Regions from separate parts of the Homo sapiens genome. Here all the other regions are linked to region 5. Evidence: promoter capture Hi-C in human tissues and cell types (Jung and others, 2019). All regions are on one chromosome and are shown on one strand. Each heading gives the region's core, a stretch centred on a gene start or on the middle of the fragment in contact. The rest is flanking DNA. Distances are from core to core; before and after follow the strand shown. Region 1 overlaps PCNX3 (pecanex 3). Region 2 holds the start of PC (pyruvate carboxylase). Region 3 holds the start of MAP3K11 (mitogen-activated protein kinase kinase kinase 11). Region 4 overlaps LTBP3 (latent transforming growth factor beta binding protein 3). Region 5 holds the start of RAB1B (RAB1B, member RAS oncogene family).

Evidence for each region. Contacts are between HindIII fragments. The study calls those that stand out against the background at their distance.
Region 1: a fragment that was not itself captured here is called in contact with the fragment with the promoter of RAB1B in region 5 in 1 of the 25 tissues and cell types used here (dorsolateral prefrontal cortex).
Region 2: a contact is called between the fragment with the promoter of PC here and the fragment with the promoter of RAB1B in region 5, in 1 of the 25 tissues and cell types used here (dorsolateral prefrontal cortex).
Region 3: the fragment with the promoter of MAP3K11 here is called in contact with the fragment with the promoter of RAB1B in region 5 in 1 of the 25 tissues and cell types used here (dorsolateral prefrontal cortex).
Region 4: a contact is called between a fragment that was not itself captured here and the fragment with the promoter of RAB1B in region 5, in 1 of the 25 tissues and cell types used here (mesenchymal stem cells).

The regions. Positions count from the first base shown.
Region 1 is chr11:65,631,539-65,635,686 of GRCh38, forward strand. PCNX3 (pecanex 3) reads left to right here. Exons shown (of 35, transcript NM_032223.4): 28 at 2,588-2,818; 29 at 3,000-3,103; 30 at 3,435-3,582; 31 at 3,680-3,910; 32 at 3,991-4,148. Among named protein-coding and RNA genes, the nearest start is that of MIR4690, 2.7 kb to the right of the region's middle. The HindIII fragment of the contact is 1,572 bases long and covers 970-2,541 here.
Region 2 is chr11:66,956,065-66,959,903 of GRCh38, forward strand. PC (pyruvate carboxylase) reads right to left here and starts at 2,319. Exons shown (of 23, transcript NM_001040716.2): 1 at 2,258-2,319. RefSeq lists enhancers at 734-1,113, 2,277-2,326 and silencers at 1,977-2,076, 2,397-2,756. The HindIII fragment of the contact is 6,851 bases long and covers 1-3,266 here.
Region 3 is chr11:65,612,618-65,616,910 of GRCh38, forward strand. It overlaps MAP3K11 (mitogen-activated protein kinase kinase kinase 11), which reads right to left and starts at 1,604. Exons shown (of 10, transcript NM_002419.4): 1 at 401-1,604. The coding sequence starts at 1,139. PCNX3 (pecanex 3) reads left to right here and starts at 3,159. Exons shown (of 35, transcript NM_032223.4): 1 at 3,159-3,847; 2 at 4,207-4,293. The coding sequence starts at 3,695. RefSeq lists enhancers at 39-926, 1,644-2,073, 1,815-2,701, 2,584-2,633, 2,694-2,783 and 2 more and silencers at 1,214-1,393, 3,404-3,653. The HindIII fragment of the contact is 27,885 bases long and covers 1-4,293 here.
Region 4 is chr11:65,545,156-65,549,229 of GRCh38, forward strand. LTBP3 (latent transforming growth factor beta binding protein 3) reads right to left here. Exons shown (of 28, transcript NM_001130144.3): 12 at 2,765-2,890; 13 at 2,535-2,666; 14 at 2,284-2,412; 15 at 1,643-1,765; 16 at 1,287-1,409. Among named protein-coding and RNA genes, the nearest start is that of LTBP3, 11 kb to the right of the region's middle. RefSeq lists silencers at 1,156-1,425, 1,436-1,735, 1,866-1,935, 2,436-2,615. The HindIII fragment of the contact is 7,062 bases long and covers 1-4,074 here.
Region 5 is chr11:66,266,335-66,270,416 of GRCh38, forward strand. It overlaps RAB1B (RAB1B, member RAS oncogene family), which reads left to right and starts at 2,305. Exons shown (of 6, transcript NM_030981.3): 1 at 2,305-2,359. The coding sequence starts at 2,346. KLC2 (kinesin light chain 2) reads left to right here. Exons shown (of 16, transcript NM_001318734.2): 15 at 99-156; 16 at 539-1,526. The coding sequence ends at 622. It overlaps KLC2-AS2 (KLC2 antisense RNA 2), which reads right to left and starts at 2,077. Exons shown (of 3, transcript NR_186342.1): 1 at 1,965-2,077; 2 at 1,721-1,874; 3 at 1,215-1,497. RefSeq lists enhancers at 1-757, 1,514-1,563, 1,864-1,913, 2,034-2,363, 2,524-3,405 and silencers at 1,014-1,063, 1,084-1,403. The HindIII fragment of the contact is 7,867 bases long and covers 1-4,082 here.

The sequences.
Region 1 (4,148 bases), core at 506-3,005, 640 kb before region 5:
GTCCCAGCTACTTGGGACGCTGAGACAGGAGAATCACTTGAACCTGGGAGGCAGAGGTTGCAGCCAGCCGAGATCGTGCTACTGCACTCCAGCCTGGGCAACAGAGCAAGACTGTCTCAAAAAAAAAAAAGGAATTTTGAGGCTTGTGGTGCTCAGAATAAGCGTACTGGGAGTGGGGTGGCCTGCTGATCACAGTGCAGGCTCCCACGTGCCTTCTTAGGATCTACCCTGGTGCTCCCTATGTTGGGCTCGGTGGGTGGCCTACTGGGGCCCAGGTGAGCCTGCCACCTAGGTTCTCTCTGGAGTAGTTTCACGAGGCCCTGGCTGTCCTTCTCCAAAGGAAATCCTGTCCACACCACATATCAGAGGAGCTGTCATTTGTCATTCCTTCTGCCCTCCCAGCCACTCCTAGGCAAGGATTTGTGAGACCACCCCCCTTTCATCAAGAAGGAGGCTGTGTCTAGAGAGGGACATTCCCAGTCCCAGGTCACCGAGAGGTCATGGCCTGGTCCACCTTCCGGTCCCATCTTGAGAGAGGTGCCCTTGCCCAGGTTGCCCTGCTGTGCCTGCTAGGCTAGGGCCAGCAGGTTGAGATGCACCTGGCCAGGTCTCTTGTCCCATGGGGAAGCTGACTGGCCACATCTAAGGCTGCCTCAAAGGCTGGGCAGAATTTGAGTCTGGAGGAAGTGCTTGGAGGACCTGGGGTGGCTCCGCTGAGGATGTGGACTGAGGGTGAAGCTTGGAAGGACAAGTCAGGGCTGCCAGGGGTGGGGCGGGGGGAGGCGGGTGTGCTGGGGAGCCTGGTGCATCTGGGGAAGTGTCCCAGCTGCAGGGATAGGTCCTTTCCAGCCTTCGAGGTTGGCCAGTCGAGGCGGAGCCCCTCCCGTTAGCTTTGCCCTTCCCGTGGGAGTTACTGGGCTCTCAGACCTGCTTCTGCAGCTGGGAAGGGCTACAAGAGCAGGAAAAGGCACCGTGGCTTGAGGCTGCACGGAGTCTGGGCAGTGCTTCCCGGGAAGTACCTTGGGCAGAGCCCAGCTCGCAGTGAGCGCTCACAGGCGGAGCGGCTGCTGGTATTGCCCCCCGTCTTCATTTTCTTCCTAAGATGACCGTGAGTGTTGTGTCAGAGAAAAGGATGGCACTGGTGAAGGTTAACCAAGCACCTGATATGTGCCAGGCCAGCTCCTCTCCCGGTCCCTGAAGCTTTTCTTTTTTTTATTTTTTTTTGAAACAAGGTCTCATTCTGTCACCCAGGCTGGAGTGCAGTGGTGCCATCTGGGTTCACTGCAGTGTCCACCTCCCAGGTTCAAGTAATCCTCCTACCTCAGCCTCCCAGGTAGCTGGGACTACAGGCATGCACCACCATGCCTGGCTAATTTTTGTATTTTTTGTAGAGATGGGGTTTCGCCATGTTGTCCAGGCTGGTCTTGAACTCCTGGGTTCAAGCGATCCTCCCACCTCCACCTCCCGAAGTTCTGGGATTACAGGTGTGAGCCACCCTGTCTGGCTGAAGCTTTTCTTTTCTGGGTCTTTTTAGCAGCTCTGGTGGTGCCTGGATTGTAGAGGCGAGCTATGGGCAAGAAAGTCAGTCTGGAGCGGGTCTGCCCTGGCAAAGGGCCTGCCCCATTAGCTCCATCTTAGGGTGGCACATGGAATCCCCATCACCTCACTGGCTGCCCTGCCGGCCTTAACCCGCCCGTGCATCCTGGCCATGCCAGCTACCTGTCTTCCAAAGCTCCTGTACTTTTGCCCAACAGGGCCTTTTAACAAGAGGTCCAGGAGCCCCCAGCTTTGGGTACCACATGTGCCCGTGGCTTTTTTCTGAGGCGAGGCCTGATGGCTGTCATGCTTCAGCTGCCTAAAGGGACCTGTGACCCAGGCACTCTGAGGCAGGCCCACTACTTCAGCCTGCCCTTCCGGCCCCGAGATCTGGATCCCACAATGTCATGATGGGGAAGGTCCGGGGTTCAGGCGGCAGTTCAGTCTGTTCTGCCCCACTCGCTCCCCGCCCCCTGCCCATGTGACATCTGGATGCTCCCGCGCTCGGGGTTATGTTTGTGCAGGAACACCAGCTCCTGCTGCTACCTGGCCCACGTGCTGCACAGGCACTGAAGGTTCACCTGAGGGCCACACCATAGTGTCGGGGCCAGCCAGAGGCGGGTGGGGGACAGGGTTCAGGGCAGGTGGGGCCAGCTCCACCTTGATGACTTGGAAGCTGAGGTGGTAAATGTTGAGTGTGATGATCTTGTTCTCGTTGGGGGCTGCCATTTGTTTGAGCCTCAATTTCTCATACAAACGGGGCATATTCTAGGGCAGAGGCAGGCAGATGCTGCTTGTGAGTGCTAGCCCCAGCACAGGACTTCCTGCTCTGTAAGTGGGTGCTTCCTGGCGGCTTTGTCACTCCTCCCTGGTCTAGGGGAAGGAGCCAACTTGCTTGGTTGCTCTTGAGAGCTGAGATGGCTCTAGGAGCGGGGCATCCCAGAAAGCGGACTTCAGCTCAGTCTTGGGGAGGAGCCTCTGAACCTCCATGCTTTCTCCTCCAGTGGCCAGGGCCGGGACCCCGGCCTGACGCCTGCCCCTCCTCTCCCAGAGCATCATCTACTACGTGAGCCGCTCACCAAAGCTGGAGGTGTGGCTCAGCCATGAGGGCATCACGGCAGCCCTGAGGCCTGTGCGGGTGCCCGGCTATGCCGACTCGGATCCCACCTTCTCGCTGAGTGTGGATGAGGACTATGACCTCCGCCTGTCTGGCCTCTCGCTGCCCTCCTTTTGTGCTGTGCACCTCGAGTGGATCCAGTACTGCGCCTCCCGGCGCAGCCAGGTCAGGCTCCACTACCTGAGGCTGCCACCTGGGGCTGTGGGACCTGGGCTTCCCTGCTCCCCTTCTCCCCATTTGGTTTCCTCTCACTCTGAGCCTCCCTTAGCCTGAGCCCCAGCCCCCACTCCAAGGTCCCTGTCCCAGGTCTGAGCTGGGCTCTGGGATGGGGGTCCTTATGCCACAGCCCGTGGACCAGGATTGGAACTCCCCGCTGGTCACGCTGTGTTTTGGCCTGTGTGTGCTGGGCCGCCGGGCCCTGGGGACAGCCTCTCACAGCATGTCTGCAAGGTGAGTGCTCGGGTGTCCCGCGGGGCCTACTGCCGTCCCCACCCCACCTCTTCCACGAAGAGCACTGTGGTCTCTGGCCACAGTGGCCACAGAAACTGCAGTGGCCCTTCCTGTTGGGGTACCTCTTCTCCCACGGGCAGGGCACTTCCTGGTCATGACCTTGCCTGCTCCTCAGTGCTCTGTGAGAGACATGGGCAGAGATTGGCCTCTTTGTCAAGATGGGGAAACTGAGGCTCAGCGTGAGGAAAGGCCTCTGCTTGGATCACTCTGAAGCCTTACCCCTGGGTCCTCGACACCCCTCTCTCCCCTCCCTGTTTTTCCTCCCACTTAGCCTGGAGCCCTTCCTCTACGGCCTGCACGCCCTGTTCAAGGGGGATTTTCGCATCACCTCCCCACGTGACGAGTGGGTCTTTGCCGACATGGACCTGCTTCACCGCGTTGTGGCGCCTGGGGTTCGCATGGCCCTCAAGCTTCACCAGGTTGGGGAGGGGTGTGCCCAGCAGCATGGGCAGGTGGGGGATGAAGCCTCTCTCCAGGGCAGGGGCCACTGACCCCTGTTCCCGTCTTCTCTACCAGGACCACTTCACGTCCCCAGATGAATATGAGGAGCCAGCAGCCCTATACGATGCCATTGCGGCCAACGAGGAGCGGCTGGTCATCTCACATGAGGGTGACCCAGCATGGCGCAGCGCCATCCTCAGCAACACGCCCTCCCTGCTGGCGCTGCGCCATGTCCTGGATGATGCCTCCGACGAGTACAAGATCATCATGCTCAACCGGCGCCACCTCAGCTTCCGAGTCATCAAGGTTGGGCCGGCCCCACCTGCCCTAAGCCCTGCCCCAAACCCCCTTGGGCCGGCCCCCTGACCCTGGCGTGTGGCTCTCAGGTGAACCGGGAGTGCGTGCGCGGCCTGTGGGCCGGGCAGCAGCAGGAGCTGGTGTTCCTGCGCAACCGCAACCCCGAGCGTGGCAGCATCCAGAACGCCAAGCAGGCGCTTCGCAACATGATCAACTCCTCCTGTGACCAGCCGCTGGGCTACCCCAT
Region 2 (3,839 bases), core at 1,069-3,568, 690 kb after region 5:
CCCAGCCCCGTCTACCTTTGCATCTAATCTTGCTTCCTCAGTTTGGTTTCCAGTCACTGACTTACCTGCACCTTAGCAAATCCTAGTGCCCTCACCTGGTTACATCTCCTGTAGAGGCCTCTTCCCAGTGACCAATCAAGTTTCTTACACCCAACAGTGAAGCTGTTTCCCCCACATTCTCCTTCCACCTTCCTCAGCCTTCCTCTTCCAGTTCTAATTGCTTGAAACCTCTGTAACTGGCCAGGCATGATGGCTCATGCCTATAATCCCAGCACTTTGGGAGGTCGAGGTGGGCGGATCACCTGAGGTCAGGAGTTCAAGACCAGCCTGGCCAACATGGTGAAACCCCATCTCTACTAAAAATACAAAAAATAGCCAGGTGTGGTGGCATGCGCCTGTAATCCCAGCTACTCAGGATGCTGAGGCAGGAGAATCGCTTGAACTCGGGAGGCGGAGGTTGTGGTGAGCTGAGATCACACCGCTGCACTCCAGCCTGGGCGACAAGAGCGAAACTCCATCTCAAAAAACAAAAACAAAAAAACCTCTTTAACAAAACCTCTCCAGAATAAAACTTTCTAGCTGCTGAAATCCAATCACTGTTTCTCCACTGCAGCGGCATCAAAAAGAGGTCCACAACTCACCTCCTCCACGAAGCCTTCCCAAGCCCATCCCCTTCCAGGCCATTTCTCCTCTCTCTCGCTTTAGTGTGTGGTTTGCTGTGATTTACTGGCCTCTACTGAACTTCCTCTTCCATGTCCTCCTAGGGCCAATACCTCACCCACTAGGCTCTCTACAAACATCTGCAGCAGGCTGCCTTGCTGCTTAGGTTTTGTTTATTTTCTCTCTCCCCCAATGGGTTTGTCAGCAGTTGCAGGACAAGGATTGACCTCATCGCCCACGCTGTCTCTCGGCCCAGTGTAGGGATAGGAACACTGTAGGTGTGCAAAAGAATGTGATTAAGAGTTCAACAGTTAAGGAGAGCCTGCAGGCAGGAAGCTGTAGCTGCAAGTGAGAGAAATGCTGAGCACATCCACCCCCAGCACAAGTGTTTGCATCACATACAGGGAAAGGGTGCCTTGGGGGAGGCCAGCCAGGGCTGATGGTGGCAGTGGGTACGGGAGCAATAGGGAGGCAGATGGCAGGCACTCTGGAGGTTCTGGTTGTCATCAGCAAGTGTTGGTACTTCTCTGAGCCTGTTTTCTCAGCTGGAGAACGGGTAAGGAGCCCAGGCCTACCTCTTCTCACAAAATAAAGACACAATCTGATTTTTTAGAATTTCAGACGAGGCACGCCTGTAATCTCAGCACTTTGGGAAGCCAGGGCAGGCCGCTCGCTTGAGCGTAGGAGTTCGAGACCAGCCTGGGCAACATGACGGAACCTCGTCTCTACCAAAAAATACAAAAATTAGCTAGGCGTGGTGGCGCCCGCCTGTAGTCCCAGCACTGGGGGACTGTGGCAGGAGGGTCGCTTGAGCCCGGGAGGTCGAGACTGCAGTGAGCCGAGATCGCGCCACTGCACTCCAGCCTGGGTGGGTGACAGCAAGACCCTGTCTAAAAAAGAAAAGAAAACAAAAGAATCTCAAAGTTGCCAGGGACCTAGGGACTTGGCTTCCGACTCTGATGCGCTTTGTAAACTACTAAAAGCTGGAGAAATAAGGGGCTGAGCCCAGCCCCACCTCCTGAATGAGCGGCCTTGGGCGAATCACTGCGTCTGGGCGCCTGGAGCTTCCCCGTCTGAAACAAAGTAGAGGATCCTACGGGAGGCGGAGTGCGAGAGCAAGGAACAAGGAAAGCCCTCGCCTTACACGCCGCGGCTTCCTGCAGAGCTGAGCCACATCCAGTACGATGGGGACAACTTGGGCTCCCGATCCTGACAGACTTGGGTTCGAACCCTCAGGGACCTCGCGCGAGGCGCTTTAGTCAGTTTCTCCATCTGCAAAATGGGCCCGAGAGCAAGAATGAGGCAGCCCGCAGGCGGACGCTGCGGAGGGGCGCTCGGGGGCTGCAGCCGGGGGCGGGTCCGGGGGCGGGTCCAGCCGGCCGAGCCCCCGCGCGAGGGGGAGGGGCGCCGTCCGCTGCGTCGCGTCGCGCACCGCGCACAGCCCGTCGCTGTCTCCTCCAGCCGTCACTCGCGGAGCCCGCGCCGCCTTTGCGCGCGCGACCCTTACATAAGCGTCCCTCGCAGCGGTGCCGGCGCACGTCCACCCGCTCCGACCCGCCGCGGGAAGAGGACCGTGCGGAGCGCGGCGGACACTCACCTCCTCGCCGTCGCCAGTCCTCGCCGCCGCCTCTACCGCTGCTGCCTCCACTGACAGAGAACAGCTGCGGTCTCCGTGCAACCGAACTTGCTGCAGTCCCGGCCCCGCCTTACGGACTTCCTATTGGCCCAGACAGCCCAACCCCTCCCGTTATTGGGCAGTGTTCTCCGTCACTCCTCGCCCCTAGGCTCTGGACTCCTCCCTGTGCCCGCCTGTCCGTCACGTTTAAGCCTTGGCGCCCCACGTCAGCCCCGCCCCTCCCGTCCCCGGCGAGCGCCTGGATAAGTGGCGAGGCTGGGAGAGCCCGCCCCTGGCGCACCACCGCCTACTCCCTTGTCTCCGGAGCCTCACGTGGGCCGCCGGACCCTAGCCGACGCCCGCAATAGGCGGAAGTGGCCGGGCTGTGGCTCGCAGTTATTGGCTGTCGGCGGGGGTGGGGACGTTCGATTCATTCACCCGAGTAGCACGTGTCTCCCGAAGCTGCAAGCACAACAGTTCGCACTGGGGCTCAGGCATCCCGGCTAGACGCAGATACGCGCTGGCTAGCGGAGAAGAGGTCGCAGGAAAAGCTAACGTTAGCGAAGGGCAGGAGGAAGGAGAAGGCGCTTGTGCCACACGGGTTACATGACTATGTCCTTTAACAGCTGCGTAGATGATGATGGGGGTCTACAGTACGTCTGTGTGACCTTGGGCAAGCAACTTAACCTCTGAGTCTCGGTTTTGTCATCTGCAGAGCGAAGCTACTCAGGACCTAGGGGGTTTGGAAGCCTTGTTTGAGACACAAGACACTTGACAAGACCCAAGACACTTGTCAAAGAGGAAAGCTTTGACAAGTGGAACAAGTGACTGAGGCATAAGTCTCTGTCATCGAGGCTTATTAATCCAGTTTGAGGGCGTGCTCGGGAAAAACACGAACCACAGACACATCCGTGGTTGTTTTTCCGAAGAGGTTTTCGGGAGGTTTAGTATTTATGCATTTCCTTAAAGGGGGAATGAGGGGAAGGCATGTAGGAAGAAGGGCAAGTAGGCGATTAGGACAATAGTTACATTCCTATGGGACTTTAGCTAATGCCCGGTAAATCTACGTAAGATGAGATGAATGTCTGAAGAGAAAAAGAGAGTAAAGGAAGAGTCAGTTATGCAGATGTCTCTGAGTAGGTAGTTTTGACTTTGTTCTGCACCTGGGAAAATAAGCTTGTAATGACATTCTTATTGTGGAATTTTTAGGAGCTAGACTTAGATTGTAGACCTGAAGCTACAATTGACCTGTCCTTGTTTATGGGAGGCCAGCAAGAATTTACTTGTGAATGATCTGTGGGGGCAGCCCTTCCCAAATGCCTGAGGTTTTTACCTTTCCGTGTGGATATGGCTGATGCCTAATGCTAGTAACAGCTATTCTTTTGGAAGAGGGTGTTGCAGTGACTCAGCTTCAAGGCTTAATCTTCACTTTCGCATGAATTGGGGCGCTGGGGGGGGGTCCCGAGATTTTTACTTTCATTCACCGCTGCGTAAACTGGGGTCTGTGCCAACCAGGGGATAAGGGAGTGACCAAACAAACCAAAATCCTGCCTTCAAAGGAGAG
Region 3 (4,293 bases), core at 354-2,853, 650 kb before region 5:
CATGACGACGGGAGGGGAGGACAGAGCACCAACTCCACGAACATGAATTTAGGGGAGGAGAAGATGAGGAGCACGAGCTTCCAGAGGACTTCCTTGAGGTGGGAGCCATGGCTGGGCAGGATGCTTATGGCCCACCTGAGAGATACCAATTTCTTAACTTGTCCAAACCGCAGCTGCAGGCTGGGGTCAAGGACTTCTGAAGCTGGCGCAGGAAGACTCTGCTGGGTGCCTGGGGCTCTGTTTGGGGGCTAGCTTGAGCCCATGGGCACCCCTGGTCAGCTGGGACCCCCTAGGGTGGGAGCTCCTACCTGCAGTAGACCCTAAGCTAGGCTCAGTGGAAGGTTGGGAGCAGGTGTGTACCAGAGCCATGCCACCCCCAACCATGCCCCCAGAAACTCACTGTTGTTGGACTTGAGATCACGGTGGATGACGGGCACCAGGGCCTCGCAGTGCAGGTAGTGCATCCCACGGGCAATCTGCACAGCCCAGTTGACCAGCACATGGGGAGGCACGCGCCGCCCGGCCAGAGCTCGGCTGAGGGGCCCACCGGCTGCATACTCCATCACCAGGCACAGGTTGGGCTCCTCCAGGCACACAGCCTTGAGGGCAATGATGTTGGGGTGTGCCAGCATGGCGAAGAGCCGGGCCTCCTGGCGAACGCTCTCGGCTGTCACACTGATGTCCTCATCGGGGTCCTGGCGAGCTGCCTTCACAGCCACCAGCTCACCTCGCCAGCTGCCCCTGTACACCTTGCCAAAGCCTCCAATGCCGATCACCTCCTCCAGCCGCAGCTCCTGGAAGCTGGCCACCTCGCAGGGGGGCGGGCCGCCACCCCGAGACACATAGTTGGACGGGAAGATGCCCACCTGGCCACCCACCTGGCCCGCCCACCAGCCCTCGTCTCCTGAGATGGCTGCGTCCCGGGACAGCACCTCCACACGGTCACCCTTCCTCAGGGCCAGCTCATCCTGCCCACTGGGCTCGTAGTCGAACAGGGCTGTCCACACCGGGTTGGCATAACCCGCTGCCTTTGGAGACCCCTCAGGCCGGCCTCCTCCACCGCCCCCACCACCCCCGCTGCCACTGCCATTCCATGACCCTAGAGGGCTCTTGAGGAAGAGGCTCTTCAAGGGCTCCATGGCCGGGAGCCGGCGCTGGGATGTGTGGAGGACCTTCTCTGGGTGCCCGTGGTCCCCACCCCCGCTGGCTGCCAAGGCCCTAGTCCCGGAACCTGGGCATCCGGGCCCTGGCCCTCAGCCCCAGACCCACGCCTCTCTGGGGAGCCAGGAGTGTTGTCTCCCGGCCCCCCGCATCTCGGGCTTCTGGAGGAGGGCACCCAGGGCAGTGTGGTCAGGCCGGGGGGGTGGGGCCCCGGGGCCTCCGGCGCCTCACCATGGCTAGCTTGGAGGGACCCGAGCTTCCCTCGGTTCTGGAGCAGTCCTGGGAGCCTGGCTCCGGCCCCCGCCAAGTGTAAGGTGGGGCCTTCAGGGGCAGCGCCTCAACTCCGGTTGGGTCTTTTTGCGCAGGGGGTGGAGGGAGCGTCCGCAGTTGGGCCGAGACTGCCTGTTCCTGGCCCCGTCTCCTTTGGCCCCGACGGCTCCGACCCCGCTCCCTTCTTCCTCCTCCCTTTGTACTTTGGCCCCGGGGGCGGGAGGCAGAGGTGGAGGGTGGAGTTTCACTTTTTTCCGCTCTTCTCCCTCCTGCAGGAAACAGCATCAGATGACGCGGGCGGCCTGCACCGCTCCCCTCCCAGAGGCTCCAGGCGGGGAGTTCCCGGGTAGGCGGGCCAGGAGAGGCAGAGAGGGAAAGGGCAGAACCAGATCCCCCATCACAGCAGGCTTTTGAGATCTAGAAAGAAAAGCCCCCAGCTGCGTGCTCTGCTGCCTAGGGTGGAGGTTGGTCTCTGCTAAGGATGGGCCATCTCTGCCCTCTGCATCCGCATCGGCGGCAGCAAAACGGGGTTACAGAACCACACTTGGGAAGGGGGTGAACCCGAGTCTGGTCTTGGCTGCGAAGTTGTGGGACTGTGCGATCCATCGATTCTGAGCCTCATTATTTTCTTTCTTTTTTCTTCTTTTGAGACGGAGTCTTGCTCTGTCGCCCAGGCTGGTATGCAATGGCGCAGTCTAAGCTCACTGCAACCTCCGCCTCCCGGGTTCAAGAGATTCTCCTGCCTCAGCCTCCCGAGTAGCTGGGACTACCGGCGCGTGGCACCACGGCCGGCTAATTTTTGTATTTTTAGTGGAGACGGGTTTCACCATGTTGGCCATGCTGGTCTCAAACCCCTGACCTCGTGATCCTCCCGCCTCGGCCTCCCAAAGTGTTGGGATTACAGGCGTGAGCCACCGCGCCCGGCCATTCTTTTCATATATGATATGAGGACGAGAAAGCTCTGCCTCGTAGAGCTAGTTGGATGGGGTGGGGAAGACTGGAGGACAGACGGAACTGGCTGCACCTCAAGCTCTTGGAGTGGATTGCCTAAGGCTCTCTTCTTCTCCTCACCTGGGAAACAATCCGCTTCTTCATATCCCTTCCCCATTGGCAGAAACCTGAGACTTGTCCAGAACTTTGCCCAGGATTGGATTCAGAATAGCTGAGTCGCCCTCACAACTTCTGGATAGGGCTGCCCCAATTGCTTTGAGCCTGTCACTTTAAGAAAGACGACGCTATCCTATTTCGACTATTCCTGCCTGTTACGGAAGGTTGTTCTCTACACCCTAGGTCTGAGCTCTGACCCGGAAGTAGACGCCGCTGGGAGCGAAATCGGTCGTGACGTACGAGGTCCAGCATTAAAGGGGGCGGGCCGAGAGGGGCGTGCTTCGGTAGTGCAGAACTCTCGCTGCTACTAGGGGAGTCCACGCCTCCACCTTTTCCCCGCCTCCTGTAACTCATTGGAAGAGCTGTGCGCCAATTACTTTGCCGTTACCCAATGGCTACTCAACTGTCTCTTTGGTTCCGCCCAGTCGTCTACCCTGGGTTGGCAACGCCTGGGTCTACGCATGCGCCCAAACGCTTTTACGCTCGAACTTGCTTTAGTCCTGGAGTCTGCGCACGCCCAAAGGGCACCCCTCGCGTCCTACCGCGCCATCACCTTTCTGCGCTTGCGCATTCATGCCGTCAAGTTTTCCTTTTCCGGGTCCCAATTGGAATCGTTGGGCGCATGCGCCACTGCAGGCTGGCGGTTCGCGGCTCCTTCTTCCGGCCTCCTCCTTAGGCCGGCACCAGCAGAAGCCGGGCGAGCGCGGAGCCCCAAGCAAGTGACCTGCGACCCCGAAAGTGGACCCCAGATCCTGGGGTTCTCCCTGGTCCGGAGACTAGGGAGCTGTCGCCTGCACCCCGGGAGCACCCACCCCACGACCACCTCTGGATGCCGCCGACGGGTACCCGGCCCGTGCCCCGCGCCTGCCTGCCGGCTCGGCCCCTCGGAGCAATTCTGGGCCAGGAGTGGGGACCCGGACCCCGCCCCTGATGCAGCCCCACCCCCGCGTCCGGGCCTTGCACCACTGACTGTCCCGGCCGGCCCCGCCCCCTGCTCGCACCCTCGCGCGGCCGAGCCCCCCTCCCCCGCTGGGGGAGGCCATGGCGTGAGCGTGAGGCCGGGCCCCGGGGCCCTCAGGCGCCAGACGGGGCATGGGCCGGGGGCCGCCCCCATGAGGGTCCCGGGAGGGGGGGCGCGGGCAGCAGCGGCGGGGCCATGGGGTCGCAGGTGTTGCAGATCCTGCGCCAGGGGGTGTGGGCCTCGCTCACCGGCGGTTGGTTCTTCGACCCGCACCAGAGCACCTTCTCCAACTGCTTCCACCTCTATGTCTGGATCTTCCTGCTCATCTTTCCCTTCTTACTGTACATGGTGAGACGCCACGGCCACCTGTAACTCCAGCCGGGAGAGGGAGGGCAGCCTGGCAGGGATTCAGGGCAGTGCCCTGGGCTCTGGGACGTGGAGAGAGAGGAATCACTGCAGAGTTTGGGTCTGTGTGGAAGAGGGGCCAAAGTCTTCCTTTCTTGGATCGAGTGACCTTGAACCCTACACTTAATCTCATCCAGCTAAGCAGAATACAGAGCCCTTTGTCGAGGTCTGTGTACTGGTTGTGTGGAGAGGTGATGAAATTTTCTTGTGAGTCTGTGAATCCCAGCTATGATGTTGATGGCAGGTACATCCTGTGGGGGCGAGGCTTTGTGAAAAGGGACCTGGCTTACTTTCATCTTCAGGTCCTGCCTCCCAGCTTGATGGTGGCCGGCGTGTACTGCCTCGTGGTGGCTGTCATCTTTGCTACTATCAAGACTGTCAATTATCGG
Region 4 (4,074 bases), core at 1,076-3,575, 720 kb before region 5:
GGAAATATGTCCTCCCCAGCTTCCCAGATGGTGCCCCTCAGGCGCCCCTGCCATCCCTCCCCCACCATCTCCTCCAACGCCTTCCGCAGCCTGCCCCTGAACTGTCAGTGTCCACAAGGCTCTGCTAGATGCTCTGCTTACCCAACCCACCTTGGGTTGGCTAAGCAGGCCCACCCAAGACTCCATAGCTCCCCCGGTCCATGGTCCATCATTCCAGGTGGGTATGCTGGCATCTCCTGCTGAGAGGCTCACAGGCACAATCCATTCAATTTGTCCAATGTGGAGCTCAGCATTTTCCCTCCCAAACATGCCCACGCATGAGGACCCATTCCCAGTGAGCAGCACTACCCCCTCACTCACCCAAACTGGAAACGGGGAGGGGTCGTTATCACCCTCGCTTTCACTTGACATCCAGTTAAAAAACCCAGGAGGTCTAATATTTCTCCAATATCATCGTCTCATGGCCATCCTGAGCCCACCACTCATCCTGTCCACCACTGTCTCCGCCCTAAGTCTCTGCAACAGACCTCCCTCCACAATCAGCAGCAGGGAACGTTCTAAAACAAATGGCAAATCTTGTCACTCTTACACTTAAAATGCTGCAGGTGCCCTCTAACACCTTCTGGGTGAAGCACAACCTCCCAGGCAGGACTTAGGGGGCCCTCCAAGGGATGGGGACCTGTCCCTCCCCGGCCAGCCTCAGCCCCCATAGCCTGATCATTCCTTACAGTTCCCCAACACCCCACCCTCTGTCTCACCTCTGATCTGCCAGTGCCAACCCCTGTGCCTGCCATGCTGTTCCTCTCCTCCTTTCTTGCCCAATTCCTAGTGATTCTTTAAGATGACCCAGGCCTCCTTCCTCCCATCCCGCTGTGTCTCCAGGAAGCAGCCCAGCTCCATCCAGGCCCAGCACTGCATGCTACAGTCTGTCTTTCCTTCTCCAGTTTTCAATGAGTCCCAGCCCCCAGCCCCGCCTCTTGGCGTATAATAAACAGGAGTGCAGGGGGGAGTACTATCGTCTGCCCTCATTCTTTGATATCTTTTTTCCTTCAAATTTAAGTAACATGCTTTGCAAACGCAGCTTCGAGCTCTACCCCGAGACCCTTCCTACGTGGAAATTCTAGTGGTGCCTTCCTTGGCAAAGTTCGTTGAGAAAATGAGTGAGCAGAGTCACCTGGGGATGAATGAGCCACCTTCCACCCACTGTTTACAGACAGCGTGACCCGCTCCCCGGCTTCAGCGCGTAGGGGGCGGCGGAGGCCCGGGGCGGGGGTGCTGGCGCTCACCCAAGCAACTGCGGCCGTCGGGCGCGGGCGCGTAGCCCTGGGCACAGGTGCAGCGGAAGGAGCCCGGGAGGTTCTCGCACCAGCCAGGCGAGCAGGGGCTGCCCTCGGCGCACTCGTTCACGTCTGCGGCGGAAAGACCTAGCCTCGGACTCTGCCCCACCGGAAGGCGGACCGCGCACCTCGCGGGGGTGTGGGTCTCTTCCCTGGAACGCGGGGTTGAGAGGGCAGCCTCTACTCCCGGAAGGCCCCGCCCCCAGACGCCAATCACCACCGCTACCCCGCCCCGCCCCCAGCGGAGCCAGACTGGGGGAGGCACCTGACGGCCCCACCCACTCGGCTCCGGGCCCCGCCCTCACCGCGACAGGCCCCGCCCCCCTGGCTGCGGTAGCCAGGCTGACAGGCGATGCACTTGAAGCTCCCGGGCTTGTTCTCGCATTTGCCATCCGGGCAAGAGCTTGGGTCCCGGCACTCGTCGATGTCTGCACGGGAGGGAGAAGGAAGAGGACCCATCTGGGGACAACGCGGGTGGCCCGGCTCCCAGCGTCCACAGCAGGGACTTCCTCCCACACAGATCAACGAGGCTCCCGGACCCCAACCTCTGAGAGGCCCAGAGCCGAGCATACAGGCCGGGTGCGGTGGCACACGGCTGTAATCCCAGCACTTTGGGAGGCCGAGGCGGGTGGATCACCTGAGGTCAGGAGTTCGAGACCAGCCTGGCCAACATGGCGAAACCCCGTCTCTACTAAAAATACAAAAATTAGGCGTGGTGGCAGGCGCCCGTAATCCCAGCTACTCGGGAGGCTGAGGCAGGAGAATCGCTTGAACCCGGGAGGCGGAGGTTGCAGTGAGCCAAGATCTCACCACCGCACTCCAGCCTGGGCGACAGAGTGAGACTCCGTCTCGGGGGAAAAAAAAAAAAATGCAGGCACCCCAGCCCCACCCCAGGTGGAGAGACAGCTAAGGAGCTCCTTCTTTGGTCTGAATGGGGTCCCCTCACCTTCGCACACAGGAGGCCGGGAGGCTTTGAGCCGGTAGCCGGGGTAGCAGTTGCACTTGTAGTGACCGGGAAAGTTGATGCAGAAGCCGCCGTCGCCGCACAGGTGGGGCTTGGCGCATTCGTTCAGGTCTGTGCGGGAGGAAGGGGCCACGAAGGGGGTGTAGGAGGCGGCGGGCAAGGGGAGGGATTACACGGCGGTCTGGAGGAGAGCCCGTCCCACCCAGGGCCGCCTCCGCCCTGGCGGCGCTCACCCACGCACGAGCGCCCCCCGGCGCCCACGTGCAGGCGGTAGCCGCGGTTGCAGTGGCAATTGTAGGAGCCGCCGGTGTTCATGCAGATGCCCCTCCCCGGGCCACAGGGCTCTGCCTCGCACTCGTTCACATCTGAGAAGAACGGGTAGGCCAAGAAAAGTCAAAGGAAGCGTCGTTATCTGGGGTCCCCCCCCACCCACCTGCATGCCCGCCGCCTGCCCTGCGCTCACCCACGCAGTAGCGGTGCTGGGGATGTGACCGGTAGCCGGGGTTGCAGTGGCAGGAGTAGTCAGGGGGGCCCGGCACGCACTCTCCGTGGCCACAGATGTTCTGGTTCAGTCGGCACTCATCAGTCTCTGCGGGCATGGCCAGGTCAAGCGGCAGAGCAGGGAGCGCTCACCTTCTGCCATATCCCCAGGGCAGACCTCAACACCCCAGTCACACCATGACCTCAGGTTCCTGTACGCCCATACTCCAACTCCAGGATGTCCTATTTCTCTCTTTTAGATAACCCCAATATCAAGACCCCAGAAAGCTCCAAACTAGGACTCCAGGCCCCTGACAGCCGTATCACCCCACACCCAGGCCCGGATACTTCCATTCCCGGTTCACTCCAAGACCCTGACCCCACTCACCTCAAACCAAACCACATCCCCTCAGGGCCCCTCAGTCGTCCCAGTACTCCCACCCAAGGGACTAAAACTCCTTTCTCCCCAGTCGCCTCAATACCTTAAACTCTATAGCCTCGGTCACACCAGTGTCCTCTAGCCCAGTGACTCCATAAGCCCTTGCCCCAGGGACCCGACCCCCTATTCCAGAAGGGTTGATTACCCCCTCCCAAGACTAGCAGGAGCTGGTTTCCTGGGAATCCTAACTAGTGCCAAAGCTGTGCACAGGCAGTCAGATCCAGGAACCACCCCCCTCACTCTCTTTGTCACCAAGCCCAGGACTCCCTGCCTCCAGCCTCTCCCCTCCTTTGGATCCTCACTGCTCACCAGTTTCATTTCCCACACCCCTTCCCCCTCACTCCTGCCATGCAGCCTGGGCCATAACAGTGAACTCTGCTCTGCCCCAAACTCACCTGGCCAGTGGGCTTTGCAGGCTGTTCTCTTTGCCTGGAGTACCTCTCCTTAGGCTTCCTTAACAGCCCCTCCTTTGAGGGGCCTTGTCCACATTCCCAAAGCCCCCAAGAACAGCCATCTCCCACCTGAGCCCTAACCCTAGGAGCTCATGGAGGATCAGGGTTTCAGCTGGGTTGGCAGTTCCCTTGTGCTTTTGAAGCCCACACAGGCATGGGCTTGAACACGGCTCAGCTGTGTGACCTGGGGCAGGTTACTGAACCTCTTTGAGGCTCAGCTTTCTCATCTGGAAAACGAGGCTAACAACGCTCACTTTGCAGAGTATGAGAAGGTTAAATGGTATTTAGAACGTAAAACTCTTCAGACAGTACCTGGCACAGAGGGACTGCTCAGTCTGAGCTAGCAATTATGATGCTCAAAATCCTGCAGACACTGCCCATAGCCTCTGGCATTAAACTCAA
Region 5 (4,082 bases), core at 1,055-3,554:
CCCACCAGTCTGTTCCCTCCCCAGCCCCACCCTTCTCCCTGCCCCCATCTCCCGTGAGTTCCTCCTTGGGCAAATCCCAGGCTGTCCTTTTCCCTCAGGATGAAGCGGGCCAGTTCCCTCAACTTCCTCAACAAGAGCGTGGAAGAGCCGACCCAGGTAGGGGCAGGCGGGTGTCTGGGCACTGGGCAGCTGCGGCCGGGGCTGCATGCGTGCTGCCAAGCTTCCCTCCAGCATGCCTCTTCATCCAGCAACAGTTCCTGGCTCTGTCTCAGGCCTACTTTGGGCTGGACAACGGGGAGACACGAGGGGAACCCAGCCTCTCCTGGGGGTGGACGTGTAAACGGCCAGTGCTAACACCGTCACTGTGGAGATGGACGGGAGTGTCAGGGCACCAGGGTGTGGCCTTGGGTCAGAACTGCCATTGCCTCTGCCCAGCTCAGGGATTCCGGCTGCCTCTGCCAGGTCAGACCCCTTCAGGCCAGGGAGGCACAGACTGGCAGCAGCACAGGGCTGAGCCACCTGCCCCCTCTGCCCACAGCCTGGAGGCACAGGTCTCTCTGACAGCCGCACTCTCAGCTCCAGCTCCATGGACCTCTCCCGACGAAGCTCCCTGGTGGGCTAATGCTGAAGGGGCAGCCAGTCACCAGAGCGCCCACCTGGCACACCCCCCTCACCCCAGCCCTGCGCATGGGCCTGCTGCTTGTCCCGCCTGTCTCTCCCACAGCCCCTGTCTTTTCTGTTCAATCTCAGGGTAACCTTCTCCCTTGTCATCTCAGCCTGAGCCCTGGAGGCTGGGCCTGCCCACTCCAGCTCCATCCCTTATTTATTCCTTCCAGCAGGGCCCTCTTCCCTAGGTTCGGGCCAGCAGGAGGTGCCGGCTGGAGTCTCCACCATAGACTCAGTGGCCTGGCCTCCCCAGACCCCAGAGCCAAGAACACTAAGCACTCGCCGGCCCTTCGGCACCCTCGCCCTCCCTCCCGACTCAACCCGGCCGTTGCTTCTGTATATAGAGAAATAAGTTATTGGCCGCGCGCCTCCCTTCAGTCCACGGTACTACCCGGGCCTCCCCTCGTCCCTCTTCTAGTGGTACCGCCCAGGCCTTAATCACCCCCATTCCGTGCGGTGGTATCTCCCAGGCTCTACATTCTCGGGAGCGGCGCCTCCCAAGGGGGTCCTGGGACCTTCTCGCGCTCCTCCTGGCCTCTGAGGGATGCGTCCTACCCGCGCCATCGCCCCGTGGCCCAGGACGGGGACCTCCCCTTAGTCCGTCCTCCCACCGCCGGGCCCTGCCCCGCATCCCGGCCTTATGCACTGCCCCTCCCACCCGGCCCCGCCCAGGCACGGCCGACCCCGCCCCGGGCACCGCCCACCGAGCCATCCTGCCTCGCCTCCCCCCACGCCTGCAGCTTCTCGCGAGGGGCGGCGACGGTCCCCTGGTGGCAGGAGGGGCTCCCCCTGTTGCGGGTGAGGCGGCTGCTCTCATATTTTCAGATGTTGCTGTAGAAATAAAGACGGTTTAAATCTGAGCTGGGCTTGTTTTGAGACGGAGGTCGGGGGCCCCCAGCGTCTCTAGACTGGGGTGGAGCCGGGAAGGGTCGTGCGTGAGTGGGGGACAGTGTGTCTCGCTCAACCGCTGTCCGCGCAGCTGGGCCCAGATATTGTGCCCCACCCCGGAATTGCGTGAGGGGCCCACAAGTCAGGCTTTCCCTAAAACACTCACTTGTGGGGTTCTGGAGACCGCGGGCTCTTATGAGCTCTGCTCCTCACAAAGTTTTTGACCTTGAGTGAGTTTCCCGAGACTCAGTTTTTTCATCTATGAAATGCGGGTGATGACGCGCGGCTGCGAGTTAGGACTGCCCAGTACACGAAGAACCCTGGACAAATGTACTTTTATTAGTCTTACTAGAACCCACATTCTCATTTAATGTTCACAACGTGGGTATTGGGAGGGCAAGGATGACTACCTCCGTCAGACAGATGTGAAACGTGCCAAGCCCAGCCCTAAATTGAGCTTTCTAAACACCGAGTCGCGGTCAGGCTTTCCAGCACTGTCCTCAAGCCTGAGTGCGTCCGGAGTGCAAACTACAAGCCCCAGAAGGCAATGCGCCAGCAGTGATGGGAGTGGGCGCGGAGGCGCGGGCTCCCCGACTACGCCTGCGCAGCGGGGCTGAGTTGGAGAACGTCTTAGACTACAAGTTCCGGGAATCAGCGCGGCGAGGCCTGAGAAGAAGACGTTTGCGCCTGCGCGTCGCGGGCGGGGCCTCTGGGGCGGAGCGGCCACCATCTTGGAACGGGAGGCGGAGCAGAGTCGACTGGGAGCGACCGAGCGGGCCGCCGCCGCCGCCATGAACCCCGAATAGTGAGTGAGCCCCGCCCGCGCCGTCCAGCGCAGCCTCGATCCCGAATACAGGGCTGTACGCTTACCGGGGTTGTCTGGCCCGGGTCAGGACTGTGCGGCGCCCCCACATCCGGGTCCCTCTTCCGCTGACCCCCCCCCACATCCGGGTTCTGCCCCTCCCCCCAGGGGCCCCAGGACCCCGGCTCAAAACCCCGAGCCCTCGCACCCGGGGCCCAGACGTGGCGACCCCCAGGGGCAGCTCTTGGAGCTCGAGACATCGGTCCTACCAGGCCTTATCGGTCAGATGACCCCGCAGTCCCGGTCACTTCAGGCCTCAGTTTCCCCACCTGCTGCTTGACAACTGTCCCGGAGTTTTGGAGCCCGTCTTGATAGTTTCTGGTCTCGGGTTCAGGCTTGGGCCCTTTAGGTCGGGCAGTGAATCCCTCTACCCTTCTCTTTCTCCTGAAGCCCGGCTCCTGGGGCCGGCCCAGAAGCTAGCCAACTACGCGGGAGGCCCCGAAGCGCCGCTTGGGTCGCGTCTCCCGCAGGTCCTCTCTTCCGGGGCTGCCTCCTACCCTTTGCCTGGGTCGCGCTGTCCTGTCGCTCCCGCCGGTCCGTCCTTTCCCGCCCTCTCCTCGCTTTTGCTCAGGCCCCCAACGCCACCGTCACACCCCTTCCCTTGGCTGTCACACTGCCTGTGAAGTTTAGATGAATATGGAATTTGCTCTCCCCCTTCCTGTGGGATTCTCTGGTCCTCAAACTCTCCTCACTCTTGGTCACTCCCCCTGCGGGTAGGTGGCCCACATCTCATGCCCAGGACTAATAGTTTTCCCCAAGTATCAGTTATCTTCTTCCTTTTCTGCCACTTCCTTTTTCTACTCCACATCCAGGTCTCAGATTTCCTTGGGGAAGGGTGAAGCTCTGAGCTGGATTGGGAGGGGAACAGAGAAGGGAACCAGCAGGCTCTCGAAGGGACTTTGGAGTCTGAGAAACCTGGTTTGAGTCTTAAAGCGATAAACTGTGTAAGTTAGGGCAAGTCACTTCCCTTCTCTGGCCTCTGGTTTCCTCATTAGTTGACAATGACAAAACTGACTTCATTGAACTGTTGTGAAGATTAAATGAGATGATGCATTTAAAGTACTTCACACAGGGTCCGTCCACAGGTTGGAACTCAAGTATATTAAATGTGATTACCTTTTGCCTTTTTTTTTTTTTATTTTGAGACAGGGTCTCTCTCTGTCACCCAGGCTGGAGTGCAGTGGCGTGACGATGGCTCACTGCAGTCTCCAACTCTTGGGCTGAAGCAGTCCTCCTGCCTTGTCCTCCTGAGTAGCTGGGAATACAGAGGCACACCACCACACCTGGCACATTTTTTAATTTTTTGTAAAGACAGGGTCTCGATATGTTTCCCAGCCTGATCTCAAACTCCTGGGCTTAAATGATTCTCGTGCCTCGGGCTTCCAAAGTGTTGGGATTACAGGTGTCAGTCACTGCACCCAGCCTTAAGTGCAATTTTCACTGCAACTTGACCACCTCTTCCTGGTGACTTCATAACAGGTTTTTGTTGTTGTTGTTGTTGTTGTTGTTGTTGTTGTTGTTGTTGTTGTCTCCAAAGAGATGGGGTTAGCCGGGTGCGGTGGCTCAGGCCTGTAATCCCAGGACTTTGGGAGGCCGAGGTGGGTGGATCACGAGGTCAGGAGATCGAGACCATCCTGGCCAACATGGTGAAATCCCGTCTCTACTA